Linked DNA regions of Homo sapiens: region 2 is linked to region 1. The links are contacts of gene promoters, found by promoter capture Hi-C in blood cells and fetal thymus (Javierre and others, 2016). All regions are on one chromosome and are shown on one strand. Each heading gives the region's core, a stretch centred on a gene start or on the middle of the fragment in contact. The rest is flanking DNA. Distances are from core to core; before and after follow the strand shown.

What was found. The method cuts DNA at HindIII sites, captures the fragments that hold promoters and counts their contacts. A CHiCAGO score of 5 or more calls a contact.
Region 2: a contact is called between a fragment that was not itself captured here and the fragment with the promoter of ARMCX6 in region 1, in 1 of 17 cell types (total CD8 T cells). The highest score is 5.7, in total CD8 T cells.

Annotation. Positions count from the first base shown.
Region 1 is chrX:101,613,218-101,620,686 of GRCh38, forward strand. ARMCX6 (armadillo repeat containing X-linked 6) reads right to left here and starts at 4,783. Exons shown (of 3, transcript NM_019007.4): 1 at 4,668-4,783; 2 at 4,286-4,367; 3 at 1,908-3,549. The coding sequence starts at 3,403. The coding sequence ends at 2,501. RefSeq lists an enhancer at 392-954. The HindIII fragment of the contact is 4,525 bases long and covers 749-5,273 here.
Region 2 is chrX:102,645,330-102,652,798 of GRCh38, forward strand. All of the region lies in intron 4 of ARMCX5-GPRASP2 (ARMCX5-GPRASP2 readthrough), which reads left to right. GPRASP1 (G protein-coupled receptor associated sorting protein 1) reads left to right here and starts at 6,154. Exons shown (of 6, transcript NM_001184727.2): 1 at 6,154-6,266; 2 at 6,358-6,404; 3 at 6,846-6,936. The HindIII fragment of the contact is 198 bases long and covers 3,640-3,837 here.

The sequences.
Region 1 (7,469 bases), core at 3,533-6,032:
CAGCAAATGGACAGGAGGGTTTTGACTTGGGCCAAGACAACGCCGTGGAGACACTTGGACGCTGATGGGCTTTTCTGTGACAGAGTTTGCTCAGGAGATGGGCAGAAAGCCTCTGGGGCGCTCCCTGAGTTAGGACTCAGCTGCGGCCTCACGGTGTCAAGTGCCTCAGCGATGGTGGACAAGCGCACGTAAAGGGAAACTTGGTAGCGTGCAGGGAAGTAGGGAGGTGCATGCTAATTCGGGACCACAGGCTAGGAGGATGCCTTTGTGCTCAAAGAGACTGAGCAATGAGGTGTCACTAAAGACAGCATTGGCGAAGCAGGCTCCACTGGGAAAAGTGCATGCGGAGCTGTCTGCAGGGAAATCCCCTTTGAAATCAGATTGCCCAGCCAAACTGCGGCTGGCTTGGGAGAAAGGGTGGTCCTTCTGACAGCTCTTAGGAACCCTTAGGAACCGGGACAGGGCTCCCAGAGCCAGCCAAGGAAGCCCCAGCAGTGTGAGCCTTGACAGGGGATGTGGTGTCACAACAACTGCAAGTCACTTGTTGGCCATCCCAGGCACCAGGGCCTGGGAAGAGGTCTGGTCCCCATTCCAGGTGGGAGGGTTTCCCAGAGTTGGTCAGGGGACCCGGCAGGCACTCAGGCCGTCTGGCCAGCATGGACTGTGGGGCAGATGGTACAAGCAGGAAAGTTGTAACCCACCTGGAAGGCAAGCTGCGGGGGGAAGGGAGAATAAGACAAGAAAAGAAAGCTTTGTTCTGTGTGGAACAGAACAAGCAGAATGCCCAGCACCACAGAGATCGCAGCTGCCCAGGACACAGTGACCCACAGCAGCAGCCCTGGGAGACCGAGAGGGCACCGGGCACGGCAGCAGCCTTGCCCAAGGGGAAGCAGATGTGTTTACTGGGTTTGCCATGGCTTTAGGGAAGGGGACCACTTCTTGACACATCACAAACATGCAGGGAACCTGGCTTTGCTGATTCAGGGGCTAAACCTGCTGGGCGGGATCTGGTAATGTTGGAGGTGGGGGCGGGGCAGAACGAGCTGCCCTGACCCATGGAGTGCTTCTGCGCCCACGGGCTCTTCCTTTCCTGGCAAGGTGCAGGCACCTCAGATGGAGAGTGTGGAGGTGTCTCCGGATGGATGGAGTGGCCACGGTCGTGCCAAGTGCCCTCAGCATCTGCCCTATCACCCCCGCAGGTAGTTGATGGAGGGCTCCACTGTCCCCTTCCTGGGTCCCACCACAGGTAGTGGGGATATGGAAGAAAGGAGGTTGCTCCAAAGGGAGCAGCGGCCAACCCTCTCACTCTGCCAGGAAGTAGCGCTGGGGATCCCAAGGAAGAGAGAAGGAGGGCTGGAAGCAGATTTCCCCCTGGCTTCGCAGGAGGGATAGAACTACACAGGGTAGGTGCTGGGCAAGCGGCAACCTTTATCGCCATCATTGTGCAATAAATGCGCCCCGATGCGTGGTAGAGCGCCCCCACCCGTTCCACCCCGGTCCCCATCCCCACGTCGGGATGCGCCGACAATCGAAAAGGCCAGGGTTACTGACCTTTCTCTCCAGGCTGGCAGTCAAGGAAAAGACATTAAGAAGGGATTTCTCTGTGCCGGGGCACGGTGCTGCCTGCTCCACGGGTGTTGTCTCTTTCAGTCCTCTCAACATTCCATCCTAATTCCACGAACTCCCCCGCTGTGCCCCTCCCCTTCCCCCACCCCCGCCTCCAGCCCCTTCTTGAAGTTTATTCTGAGCACTGCAGCCCCTCTCTATCCCTGCCTCCTGTGAGCACCGATAAGCCTGCATTTGTCACGGAGCAGACGTTCCAGTCAGCTGGCGTTTACCGTGCTTTTTTTTTTGTCCTTCTCTCCGTGCAGACTGTAAACTCAAGGACAAGGACCATGACTCTTTTCTGCCAATCAAAGCACACAACTTTATTGATGATACACACAGATGCGGACTTGGGTGGAAGAGGTTAAGTCGGTACAATAGACAGAAGAGCAGTGCACTTTTTTGATGAATAGGTTCACTATCCATCAGGCGCGTGTAGAAGAAAGAGCAAACGAAAAATAATTCAACCTAAGCTGCAACAAATGCATTTTCAGCTCAAGCCGCGATATGCCTCTGGTCTCTGCAAAGCGGTCCCGCTTGGACAGGGAGACCACCACAGGCAACAATAGCACTCGTGATGCTGTAATTTGATGTTCTTTGTCCACAGCAGGCAGCTGAAGTGATCCCCTCACCACATGAAGGAGGCTGCAAGGGAGGAATTTACAATGCCAACATTGCCTGCAGACTGCACAACCAAGAAGTTACTCAAAGCTCTGTGGGAGCCCCTGCCTGGCCAATAAGAGTGTGGTCCTGGATTGAGCCCTGGAACTTTCACCCAATGAGGTGGTGATTGGCTAAGGCTGGATCTTCAGTAGCACCCTCTGCAGATTCTTTGACATCTGCAAACCAAGCGCGTTGTGGGTGGATTCCGTCCCATTGTGTTCGAGAGGGCCGTTTATGGGGCAGGGGTTTCCAGGAGAATCTCTCTGTTTCCATTTCTGATAAAGAGGGACATGAATGAGAAGAGCATCTGGGCACCGACTAACTCCCCCGCCAAGACTGGCTTTTCAGACAAACCCATCAGCGGTTTCAAAACCTGAACCTTAGCACATCCACTTCCCTCTGATATCAAAGGAAACTTCAAGTCTGAAGCGGACTTGGCAAGCATGTTATTAATAACTGTCATGCTTATTAACAAATTTAATCCGGCCTGCTGCAGAAATGAGTTGCAGCAACGTGACACAGTCTCCCGACACACTTCATTGATGTACATCTTAATCTGGCCCTGACTTTCAATACTCGCATTTAAGTTATCCGGGGCACACAAAGCCTCTCTAACAGTGGGGTCTGGAGTGGGGCTCGTGTTTCTAGCCATTGAGAGGCTGGCCAAATGGCTATTGATATCCTGGCTAAATGGAAAGCCCGCATCCTTGGGCTCGGCAAACAACAGTTTTCCCTGAATGAAAAGACACTTGGAGAGGTCCAGAACACAACTGCCATTTTTACAATTTTGAGCACTCCAAGTATTTTTATGTTCATAGGGGAATGGCCGCTGTTTTATTGGGTGTGCTCGGTTGGCCTTGCCTCCCCCTGAGGGCCTGTCCTCAGTGCCACCTGGGGCCCCAGGTTCAGTCCAATCCCCATCCTCAGTCCAGGGCCGAGCCATAGTTTCAAAATCAAACCAAATATCAGGCTCCTCCTCATCCAGCTCCTGGTCATCGTCCCACTCCTCTTCCCCCTCCTCCTCCAGCTTCTCACTGTCATCTCTTCCTATGGTCAGTTTGTAAACGCAGTAGCAGGCACCAGCCCCAATCATCAGTCCTGCCGCCATCCAACCCACTTCCCGAGCCCGGCCCATGCTCAAGTCTGTGCCAGCCTTGGGGCAGGACAGGAGAGGGCCTTGCTCCACCTGATTGAAGAGGTCTCTCAGGTCCAGGGTGAGTAAGGATGGAGGGTAGCAGTCTTCAGCTTCTTCCAGGCTCTTGTAGCTCTCTTGTGATGAATCTGTGGGTGAAACAGAGTATTAGGGCTCGGGACTATGTTTGGCTTTGTGCCTCACAGACAGGGTGGATTTCGAGTTGGTGATAAAGGCAGATTAACAGGATACAATTTCTTTGTTCTTTTCTTTTCTGTCTTCCTCTATCGACCTCAGGAGCCCCCATTTCTCTTCCTGGGTCCACAGGGAAGGGCAGGAGATGGGTCTCTGCTATGATAGCTAGGAGGGTGACAGTGTGAGTACCTCTCAGGTAGTCTCCTACACCAGACCTCCACCCCCAAAGATTAAGGGCAGTTTCTCTCATTAACCTCTACCAAAGTCAGATAAATTCCTTCGTTTTCCCTTGTCTTCTGTTGTCAGTGGTCCCTCCACGGTGATAGAGGATAGAGTCTGGCAGAAGGACAAATGCAAAGACAGGTAGGCGGCAATGGAGAAATGAAAGTGTAGTGGATGAACTGAGGACACAGGTCCCAATTTCTGTTTTTGTGAATTTTAGACACTTGAGTTTAAAATATTTCTCATACTCTACTGACTTTCCGGACGCAGGCCTCCTCCGCCCCACTTGTCGTCCGCCATTTCCCCAGCAAAGGCCGCCACACCCCTTTCCCTGCACTGAAATGGGAGTGGGTGTGGAGAAAGAAGGGGCCAGGAGAGGGCGACTCGGACCTGGCCCTCTCATATCCCAGCCCCCCTCCTCCGCCACCCCCACCCATGGTCCTGGGCTAATCCCACCTTCACACTGACCTGCAAGGTTCCAACCAAGGCAGTTTTCTCCTTCTCTCGCTGAAACTTGTGCCGAAACCTACAGGCCAACAGACCTACAAACCTGCAAACAGACAAGGGACCGAGGGGACGGAGTGCTTGGTGGACGGACCAGCACCCGGGACACTAGAACCTTTCTTTTCTCGGAGTCTCTGGAAACGCCATTCACTCCCCTCACCCCCACCCGAAACCCGCCACTTCTCTCTACTAAAATGAGCACGGGGTGGGGTGGGGGTGGGTAGCAGTATTTAGAAAGTAGGCGAGAAAGGGACCCAGCTGTGATCGGCCTGAACTCGGATCTGTGGCGTTCTTGGCCCTCTTCCACCCATACCTCCTCTCAAGCAGCGCCCACCCTCGCACCGACCTGCACGGTCCGAGCTAGTTTCCTTCTTTCTTCACACGCCTGCAGAGTAATAGGGGGCTGGTACCCAGACGGAGGCGACTAGCAGGACTTGTGCTCTAGGCGGCTCTTGGTCACGTGACGGCCACGTCACCAGTGCGCTCTGGCCCCCAATTTCCACTCCCACAAGCAGTGCGGCAGGCGCCAGCCTGCCTTGTATCTCCCCCTCAACCCCCACAGTGGGCCCTGTCACTTTTTTCCTCTGTAACAATACCAGAAACCAGAAGTGGCCCTGTCTTTCTGGTGTTTGAATTTATGTTTCTCTAATTCCAGGAAGGGGCAGCATCTTTAGGAAGGGGCAGCATCTTTTCCTGAGTCTACCCTTCATTTACACTTCTTGGGGAATTGTCTCATCCTTTCCTTGGCTCTGAAACTTCTGCAGCCCCTTTCTTAAATTTCTACACTTTTCCGTGTTCAGTCTCTACACCAACATTGGGTGAGGGGGCAGAAACGGAAGTCCAGGCAGTGGTGAGATTTTAATTAGTATTTTGATAACATTTAAGTTATATTTTGTCCTTTCTTTTTTATTGACTTGAACTACACTATTTTGTAATCGGAAAAAAACAATAAAGCTTTTCCCACTTGGAGAAGAAATAATTCAAATCTTTTTTTTTTTTTACAGATATATATATATATAACATAAGCAAGATTTCCCAGTTAATAGGAGGCCTCATTGATTTGATGAAGTTAGTTTGTATCAAGTTGAACATATTTTCTTCGGACTGCACAGGAAATAGCAGCTTTCAAACAACATATTAAAATGTAAAAACACACCCTTAGAAACAAAACCAGTTGTGCTTTCAACATGATTTATAAATTGATGGATAAATGAATCTATACCGAGAAGGTCAGTGTTCTAATTTTGACCATTTTAAGTAAGTGAACTATTGTCCCTTTCTTTCTCCTGGCTGAACTCATAGTATTAGGTGTCAGATGACTGAGATCTTCATAGAAGATTGCTGGGTGACTTTCACTCTGGCTTCAAAGGACAGATTTTATGCAGACCCCAACTTCAGATGAATCTTACATCTTCAGATGAACTTTACAGATTAGTGACTCCACAGATTAGCCTGCCTTTCATTCACAGGGCTTTATTTACAATCTATTCTGAAGTTTGTGGTGCAACCTATAAATCTTCCAGAAATTAGAGAATTTCCTGTTATCCTATTGATGAAAATGAGACTTGATAGAGGTAATTTTCTTTCCATCATGACACTGTTGGCGATCTCTCTGTTGTCTGCCATTCATGTATTTTATGCTACCCTAGCAGTGGTGAGTGTTCAGCATTTTCCAGTGGAGATGGTGGTGAGGGTCTGTGGGTGACTGGGAATCAGTGCAACACCCCTGATGTCTGTGTCATTTTTTCCCCTCACAAGTGGAAGGGCAATGCACAGGATCTCAAGCAGTTGCCAGAAAAAAAGAGGACTTTTCATTTCCTGCCTTCTATTACAACTTCATTGAGCCACCAGTACAAGCCCCTCAGAATAATCCCAAAACTCAGGGACCAAGTATGCAGAAGTTAGTCCTCATGCATCCACCTGTCCCTGCTGAGGAGTCATACTCTAAATATAGACACTCCAGGCAACCTCTTAGAACATTGAAATATGACACCCCAGAGGGAGGGGCTCCCCAGTGAGGGGCTCCTGTGTGGAGGAGGCCCTTTCAGGAGGCAAGCCAGGGAGTCCTAGTGCCTTGCTGGTGAATATTCAGAAGTCAATATGTCACAACTTTCTGGTCTTCCCCTTTTATAGTCCAAACTCACCAATATCACATCTTATCTCTCTAAATCTTTACCTCATTTTTTTTTCATGACCCTTTATTAACTTCCCCTAGACAAGTGAATTATACTTATGAAGGCTTACTAACAGAACTCTCAGATTCAACAGTCCATCATTCAGTGTTTGGCTGCTAGGTAGTTGTATAAGTGGCTTTTGTTTGTTTTGAATATATACATTAGAAAAAACTAAGGAGTATGTAAAGCTTAATAAAGACAGATGACTTGGTGTCACAGACATGGCTTTACAATAAGAACTCACTTTCACAACACTTAGCCAGGCTTCAAGGACAAAAACTTTACTCCTACCTCTCCTCAGTAGTATAAAATATCTCCACCCTTTTGGTATATTCTCCAGTTAGTCCGATGTATAACTTCTCACTACCATTCTCCCAGTATGCCAGACCTTTCCTGGTTTGAATCCACTCCCTGTCTAAAACTTCCTAAAACCCCATGGTTATAAAAACCCTTTCAATTCTCTTACCTCTTTGTTCTTCTGATCCACGATTCTATCAATTCCTACCTGGAGACTAGCATTAAAAAAAAAACTACTTTGCTCTCCATTATACATCTACCAAGAAATATTTAATTAAGGACATGTTATAAGGCTCACATACCTTTCAAAAGTGAGAAAGGAAAATGCTTAAAGAAGTCCTCAGACACTACTGTTAAAAGTTTCTGAGTCCGCAAAAAACTACTGTGAAACCACTGCCAAAACAAAACTTTTGGCTTAAATCAGTTCACATGTGATATGTAACTTACAAAGCACCCAGAAACAAAAAACGACCAGCAAATGGTGACACTAATGGAATTGTGGAGGGTGAAAAAAATAAATTATAGAAGGTTGTTATCTTGAAAAGTTATATTACTTTTTGTATTGTGTAATTTTGGTATTGTGTCTTACTTAAGGTTGTTTGGTTGCAAGCAACAGAGAACAAGCCTGGTTAACTTAAGGAGGAAATGTTGAAGACAAGGCTCATCTCCGAGGGGTT
Region 2 (7,469 bases), core at 2,489-4,988, 1.0 Mb after region 1:
AGACCAATCCCTGATTCAATTACCTCCCTCTGGGTCCTTACCATAACACGTGGGAATTCTGGGAGATACAATTCGAGTTGAGATTTTGGTGGGGACATGGCCAAACCATATCATTTCACCCCTGGCCCCTCCAAATCTCATTTCCTCACATTTTAAAACCAATTATGTCTTCCCAGCAATCCCCCAAAGTCTTAACTCATTTCAGCATCAACCCAAAAGTCCACAGTCCAAAGTCTCATATGAGACAAGGCAAGTCCCTTCTGCCTATGAGCTTGTAAAATCAAAATCAATCTAGTTACTTCCTGGATAAAACGGGGGTGTAGGTATTGGGTAAATACAACCATTCCAAATGGGAGAAATTGGCCAAAACAAAGGGGTTACAGGGCCCATGCAAGTCTGAAATCCAGTGGGGCAGTCAAATTTTAAAGCTCCAAAATGATCTCCTTCAACTCTAGGTCTCACATCCAGGTCATGCAGATGCAAAAAGTGGGTTCCCACAGTCTTGGGCAGCTCTGCCCTGTGGCTTTGCAGGGTACAGCCTCCCTCCTGGCTGCTTACATGGGTTGGCATTATCTGTGGCTTTTCCACGCACACAGTGCAAGCCGTCAGTGGATCTATCATTCTGGGGTCTGGAGGATGGTGGCCCTCTTCTCACAGCTCCACTAGGTGGTGCCTCAGTAGGGACTCTGTGTGAGGGTTCTGACCCCACATTTCCCTTCTGCACTGCCCTAGCAGAGGTTCTCCATGAGGGCCCCACCCCTGCAGCAAACTTTTACCTGGGCATCCAAGCGTTTCTTACATCTTCTGAAATATAGGCAGAGGTTCCCAAACCTCAGTTCTTGACTTCTGTACACCTGCATGCTCAACACCACGTGGAAGCTGCCAAGGCTTGCGGCTTCCACCCTCTGAAGCCACAGCCCAAGCTGTATGTTGGCCCCTTTCAGCCACAGCTGGAGCAGCTGGGACACAGGGCACCAAGTGCCCAGGCTGCACACAGCATGGGGGCCTTGTGCCCAGCCCACAAGAACACTTTTCCTCCTGGGCCTCCAGGCCTGTGATGGGAGGGACTACTGGGAAGTTCTCCGACATGGCCTGGAGACATTTTTCCCATGGTCTTGGGGATTAACATTAGGCTGCTTGCTACTTATGCAAATTTCTGCAGCTGGCTTGAATTTCTTCCCATAAAATGGGTTTTTCTTTCTTATCGCATAGTCAGCCTGCAAATTTTCCAAACTTTTATGCTCTGCTTCTCTTATAAAACTGAATGCCTTTAACAGCATCCAAGTTACCTCTTGAATGCTTTGCTGCTTAGAAATTTCTTCTGCCAGATACCTTAAATCATCTCTCTGAAGTTCAAAGTTCTACAAATCTCTAGGGCAGGGGCAAAATGCTGCCAGTCTCTTTGCCAAAACATAACAAGCGTCACCTTTGCTCCAGTTCCCAACAAGTCCCTCATCTCCATCTGAGACCACCTCAGCCTGAATTTTATTTTCCATATCACTATCAACATTTTGGGCAAAGCCATTCAACAAGTGTCTAGGAAGTTCCAAACTTTCCCACATTTTCCTGTCTTCTTCTGAGCCCTGTTCCAACCTCTGCCTGTTACCCAGTTTCAAAGTCGCTTCCATATTTTGGGGTGTCTTTTGAGCAACACCCCACTCTACCGGTACCAATTTACTGTATTAGTTTGTTTTCACGCTGCTGATAAAGACATACCCGAGACTGGGAAGAAAAAGAGGTTTAATTGGACTTACAGTTCCACATGGCTGGGGAGGCCTCAGAATCATGGCAGGAGGTAAAAGGCACTTCTTACATGGCAGTGACAATATAAAAATGAGGAAGAAGCAAAAATAGAACCCCCTGATAAACCCATCAGATTTTGTGAGACTTATTCACTATCATGAGAATAGCACTGGAAAGACTGGCCCCCATGATTCAATTACCTCCCCCTGGGTCCCTCTCACAACATGTGGGAATTCTGGGAGTTACAATTCGAGTTGAGACTTGGGTGGGGACACAGTCAAACCATATCAAGTCCCATCAATGGAATGTGAGTGGAAATGATGTGAGCATTTCCTCACCATGGATTTTAAGAAGGAAATCAACTACTTCTATTCTCCTTTTTCTCATTTGCTGGCTGGATGCAGGCTGTGGTGAGGCCCTATCATGATGAGGCAGGAAGTGATGGTTAGTTAATGAGAAACAACAACAAAAGGTAGTGTAGTTTTCTCATTATTTTTTCTATTATAGAAAGCAATTTGACATTCCATTAATTTCTAATATTTATTGACATTGTGGAAATTCAGGTTTTCTTCTCCCTGTAAAGCTAATTAGCTCTCCTTGCCAGCTCCTATAGTTCTAAAAATCCTCAAGGGGTATTTCCTATGTCCTGAATTTTTGGGGTTTTCCTGTGATTCTTCCAGTTGTTGCTGCCATTCTAAGCTGTATTGCCAGGCATTTAATGTCCTCTAATTAACTGTTCTCTCTAATTTCCTAACTCCACCTATACACAGGGTTTTCATGATGTCAGATCTGAGTAGTAGTCAAAAGTTTAAATCCATGTTAGAAAGGAGGATATTTTCCTCTCTTTAGGTTATGCTTTATTAATGGGTTCCTTACACTGGAGCATTACAGAGTTTACTTAAAGACAGTTATTTCCTGGATATGTATAAACCTGCCTTTGCTATGACAGATATACAGTTGAGGGTTTGTGTTGGAATAGGCACAAATAGGAGTTCTATAATAATTTCAGTGTTGCTATTAGAATATCTATACTTCCCTAATGGCAAGGCATTGTTCATGGGCTAGGGTCCTTGTGCGTGACTTGGTTTTTCTTCAAGATTAATTCTCTTGAAGTAGACCCCACCCCAAATATGACCTGAAAATATTCTTGGGCCAGGCCTCCCCACCAGTTCTGCAAATGTACCCTGTCTCAAGAAGTAGAGACAGGCTGAGATCTTTCCCATAGCATTTTCAGGCTACACTGAAAATAGACATCTGTTGGGCCAATTTCACCATATAGTTCACCAGACCAACCTCAGCCTAGTTATTCCTGACTACAGGGGACTTTAATTTCTGTGTACAACCTTTGAAACTTTGAGATAGAAGAAGGGGATACATTATAAGAAAACACAGGGTTTGGCTCAGCCTCGACCAAAAGAGAAGTCTCAGAAGGAAGCTTTGCTTGAGGCCCATAAAGGACAGTATAGAGGCAAGTAAAACTAAATAGGCAAAAACAAGTCCATGACCATGGTGATTGAGACAGACAAGAGGAGAACAGGCAAGTGATAGGCTGGTGTGCAAGTTCATGAGCATGCTTGGGGGTGGTGGGTGGGATTTGGAAGAAAACAGTGAGTATGATGAGTGAGCACAGTTGCATCTGTATCATGGACTTAATGCTTATGGATTATTTGGCTCTGACATTTAGATTTCAGTGGTAAGTCAGGGTTACACAGGTGCTAGTGTAGGCACTGAGGAGTAGAAAGATGACTGTTGCAATTTATTGAACTAGAATCAATTATAGGAGGAAATAAATAGTGCTTAGCAGTCAGAGTATCTTATTTCAATCTTTTATTTGCTCAAAGGTTTTAAAAATAATAATCTATTTGATACATACCCATACAAAGCTAACATATGAAAAGCTTAAAGTAGGGCCTTTATCACTTCAATACATACTAACCAATACAAGACCATGTTTTCTAAGAGTACTGACAACAAATTGTCCAACACACATTTTAAAGTCTCACACAGTAAAATTTGTCAGCTTTTGGTAGAACCATTCCTCTGTCAGTAAATATCTTGGAATAAAGATCCTAGCACCTGCAGAATTACCACAGAAGCTTGTGCAAATGTGATTTTGGACATAATTATAAAACAGTAAAGGGGATTGGTGGCTGTATTGGTGAGATGAGCCCTAAAATATTTCTCAGAGACTGAAGCACAGGTAAAGAAAGGCAATGGGAATAGAATTCATCAGGATGGTGAGTGTATTCTGTTCCTACTCCTGCTATTGTTACCAACCAACACAGTGGGTGGGTTCAGTCGTTTGACATCAACCCCATGATCACAGCAAGGATTTAGTAAGGGGATTTATTACTTGTAACGAAGTAATGAGACCACCAGGGATACTTCCCAAAATAATGTCTCCCTGAGATGGGGGCTGGGTCAGGTTTTCATAAGCATTGGGTATTAAGGGTATATCCTGATGGCTTTGGATCTTACAATGAGGTGATGCTGAGAGGCATGATCTGACTGGATCCTGCCATCCAGTGTCCACTTCTTAATTCAGCCCTGGTCCTAATTCAAAACACTTACATTCTCCCTCTGATTGCATGCTTGGTTCATCTGAGGATGCTCAGGTAACATGATCTGAGGGTCCCCGGCAACTGAAAGACAATGCACAACTTTGTTATATAAAAGTTAAACCAGATAGGTCTGGTGCTGCTACCCTGTAACCAGTTACCATACATGGAATGGCTTAAAATAATACCAATTTATTATTATCTTACAGTCCTGGAAGGTTGGAAATCTTCAAAGGGCTTCACCACACTAAAATCAAGATGTTGCCAGAGGAGCTATCCCTCTGGCATTTCTAGGGAAGAATCTGTTTCTTTGTCTTTTCCAGGTTCTGGAGACAGCCTGTATTTCTTGGATCTTGGCTTCCTTCCATCTTCAAAGCCAACGATGACCAGTGTAGACTTTCTATGCTGCTTCAATCTGACATGGAGTCCCTGCCTTCCACATCTAAAGTACCCTTGCAATTACATTGGCCAAGATAACCCAGAATAATCTTAAATTAAACTCAGCTGAATAGCAATCTTAATGATCCTTTGTCAGGTAATATAAAATGGTACATGTTCTGGAGAACAGGACATGGACATCTTTAGGGGACCGTTACCTGCCAAACACAATGAGGGTAGTGTCTAAATGAGTTTTCAAATGGACAACAGTAACAACATCAACTTGGTGTTTAACCACATTGCTCTGTCTGTCCCATGCAGGAAGCAGGGAAAGGAGGGGCTCAAGAGTAGAGGACGGATGTGGGGGTGAAAGAAGAGGATTCAAATGAGCCAGGTTGCTTTGTCTCGGGGAGGGGGGTGCACGGTGGGATCCTCTCCTGAGAATGACTGCTGAAACAATAGGTAGTTGTGGCAGGTGGCGGAGATCCAAGCTGGTTTGATACCAGCCACATTTCCACACTGCCAAATATCATGGCAAGAGAAGACTTGACAGGGAACCGAAGAGAAGCCAGGACCATCCCTACCTGGCGGCATCAAAGAGAGAGGACTGTTATGACCTCCTGCGGGTCCTGACAGGGAAAGGTCCTCTTTTGGGGGCAACTGTGGGGACGGTGCAATGCCAACGTGAGCCACCATTTGAAATGAGAAACAGCGGTGTGGCAGAAAGAAATGAGTCTGGTGCAGACCAGTGGTTGGTTTCCTAGGGTTAGAGGTCTAGGTCTACCTTCTTTTAGAAGAGGGGCAGTGGTGAGTCCTTGATGGGAGCCCCCTGCCCCGGAGTTCACTTAAGAGCAGGTGTACCTTCCTCCCCTGCGTGGCTCCACGAAGCTGGGAAAGAAACGCACAGGACGACCACCCTAGAACCCCGGGCCTGTCTGGACTGAAATCGCCTCTCCCCTCCCACACTGCAGTGCTGACACCCCCTCTCCCATTAACATCCAGGAAGGAGGGTGAGCAGACTAGGGAGGGGGAGAGGGCAAACACCCAGCAGTCCTTATAGGGGGGCGGTTGGGGCGGGGGTGCAGACACACCAAGGGACGGTTTGGTATCCATCCGCTGCTCCCTCCAGCGCGGCTCTTCGCGACCTCGCGATCCTGTCCTCCGCCCGGCCCCGCAGCCGCCCGCCGGTGCCATATATTATAGCAGCGCCAGAAATGTGGTGGTCGTCGCCACGTTAGGGTCCGCGGGGTCCTCCTGAGGCAGCCTGGTGCCAACCCGCAGGCCCCGGCTGGGGCTCGTCCTGGCCCCGCCCACCTCTGGGTCGGAACTATGGTGGTTCTGTGAGGGGGGGCGTCCTGCACTTTCGCGCCGTATCCCTCCGCCCCCCTTCCCGACACCCTCGCGGAGAGCGGTTCTTGCCGCATCCTGCGCAGCCCCTGCCCAGTTTGGTGCAGAGGCGTGGGGGGCGGGACTCGTCTTTGCCATTCGGATCGCTGGGAAAGCGGTGGGAATCCAACTGAAGAGCAGCCAGAGGAGAGCTGAAGAGAGGAGGGGGAGGCCGATGACCTGGGCTCTGGGCCTCTGAAGGCAAGTAGGGGTGCGTGAGGTGGGGGGCCGTGGTGTGGGGGTGGTCCGCCAGGGTGGACCGGCTGGCAACCTGCCCCCCGGACCCTGACAGCCTGGCAACGAGGAGACGATCCGTTCGGAGCCGGGCGCTAGAGAGAGGTGCGCAGTGCCCGAGATCCCTGGCTATGGGGAGGCGGTGACTGGTGCGGGCCAGGCCGGACCAAGGGCTGAGGGGCTGGCTCCAGAGGCACCGTCAGATCGTCTGGAGGAGAACCGCGCTGACCGCTTCCCAGCCAGCTTTGCAGGCGCCCGCGCGCAGCCCTCGACGGTTTCGGTACCGAGAGACGGCTGTGGGGGAGGCTCCTGCGGGAGAAATGGCCAAACGGGAGCCGTGTTGGGGGGCGCCCGGGAGGCAGTTGGGGGGCGCCTGGGGGGGCCCTCGTGGGCCAGCGTCCCAGCTCTGTGCCTAGCCCGTGGGAGGTGGGTCGCGTTCGCTGCTCCGGGCCCTGATTCCGGAAAGGGGCCTGTGGGGCCCCGTGTCCTGGGTGCTGTCCCTTCCCACAGACTCCAGGTTGATGTCAAAGTCTGTCTGCGCGGTAGGTCTGGCGTATTCTGACAGGACACAGTGAGCATCTGTAGAGGAGAGGCTTGAAATAAAGGAGGAGCACGAATATTCCCTGGATTTCTGGAGGTGTGTGGGGATGTGGGGTGGGTGCCAAACACTGGAGAACCGAATCGGGGTGGGGGACTGCGACCAGAGCAGGTCAGGCATCCAGGAGCACCTCTTAATCTTCCCCTCTCTAATGGTGTTCCAGGCGCTTCCCCCACCTTCCATCCCCATCTGCCTCCCCCACCGTCCTAAACTGGGGGCTTGAAAGGGTGAGCTTTGGAGGTAGGGGTGATGAGGGAGACATACTGACAAGTACCAATTCACGACCTGTTTTCTAGAATATGTGGCGCCCTTCCCCCATTTTCTGCTGCGCAGAGCAAGGGGATGTGGCGCACCTAGTGGTGAATCCTCAGAATTGGAGAAGGGAGTAATGAGAAGAGTATGACGTCAAGAGAAGGAGTTGTTATCTCTAGAACCTTGAAGCAGGGCCTAAACAAAACGAGAATATTCCACCAGCAAAACCCCGAATGTTGAAAGACAGATATCAATAATATGGGGATTCTTATCCTTAGCGTTGGTCTCTCTACCAAGGGCTTTACTGCCACCCCTCATTT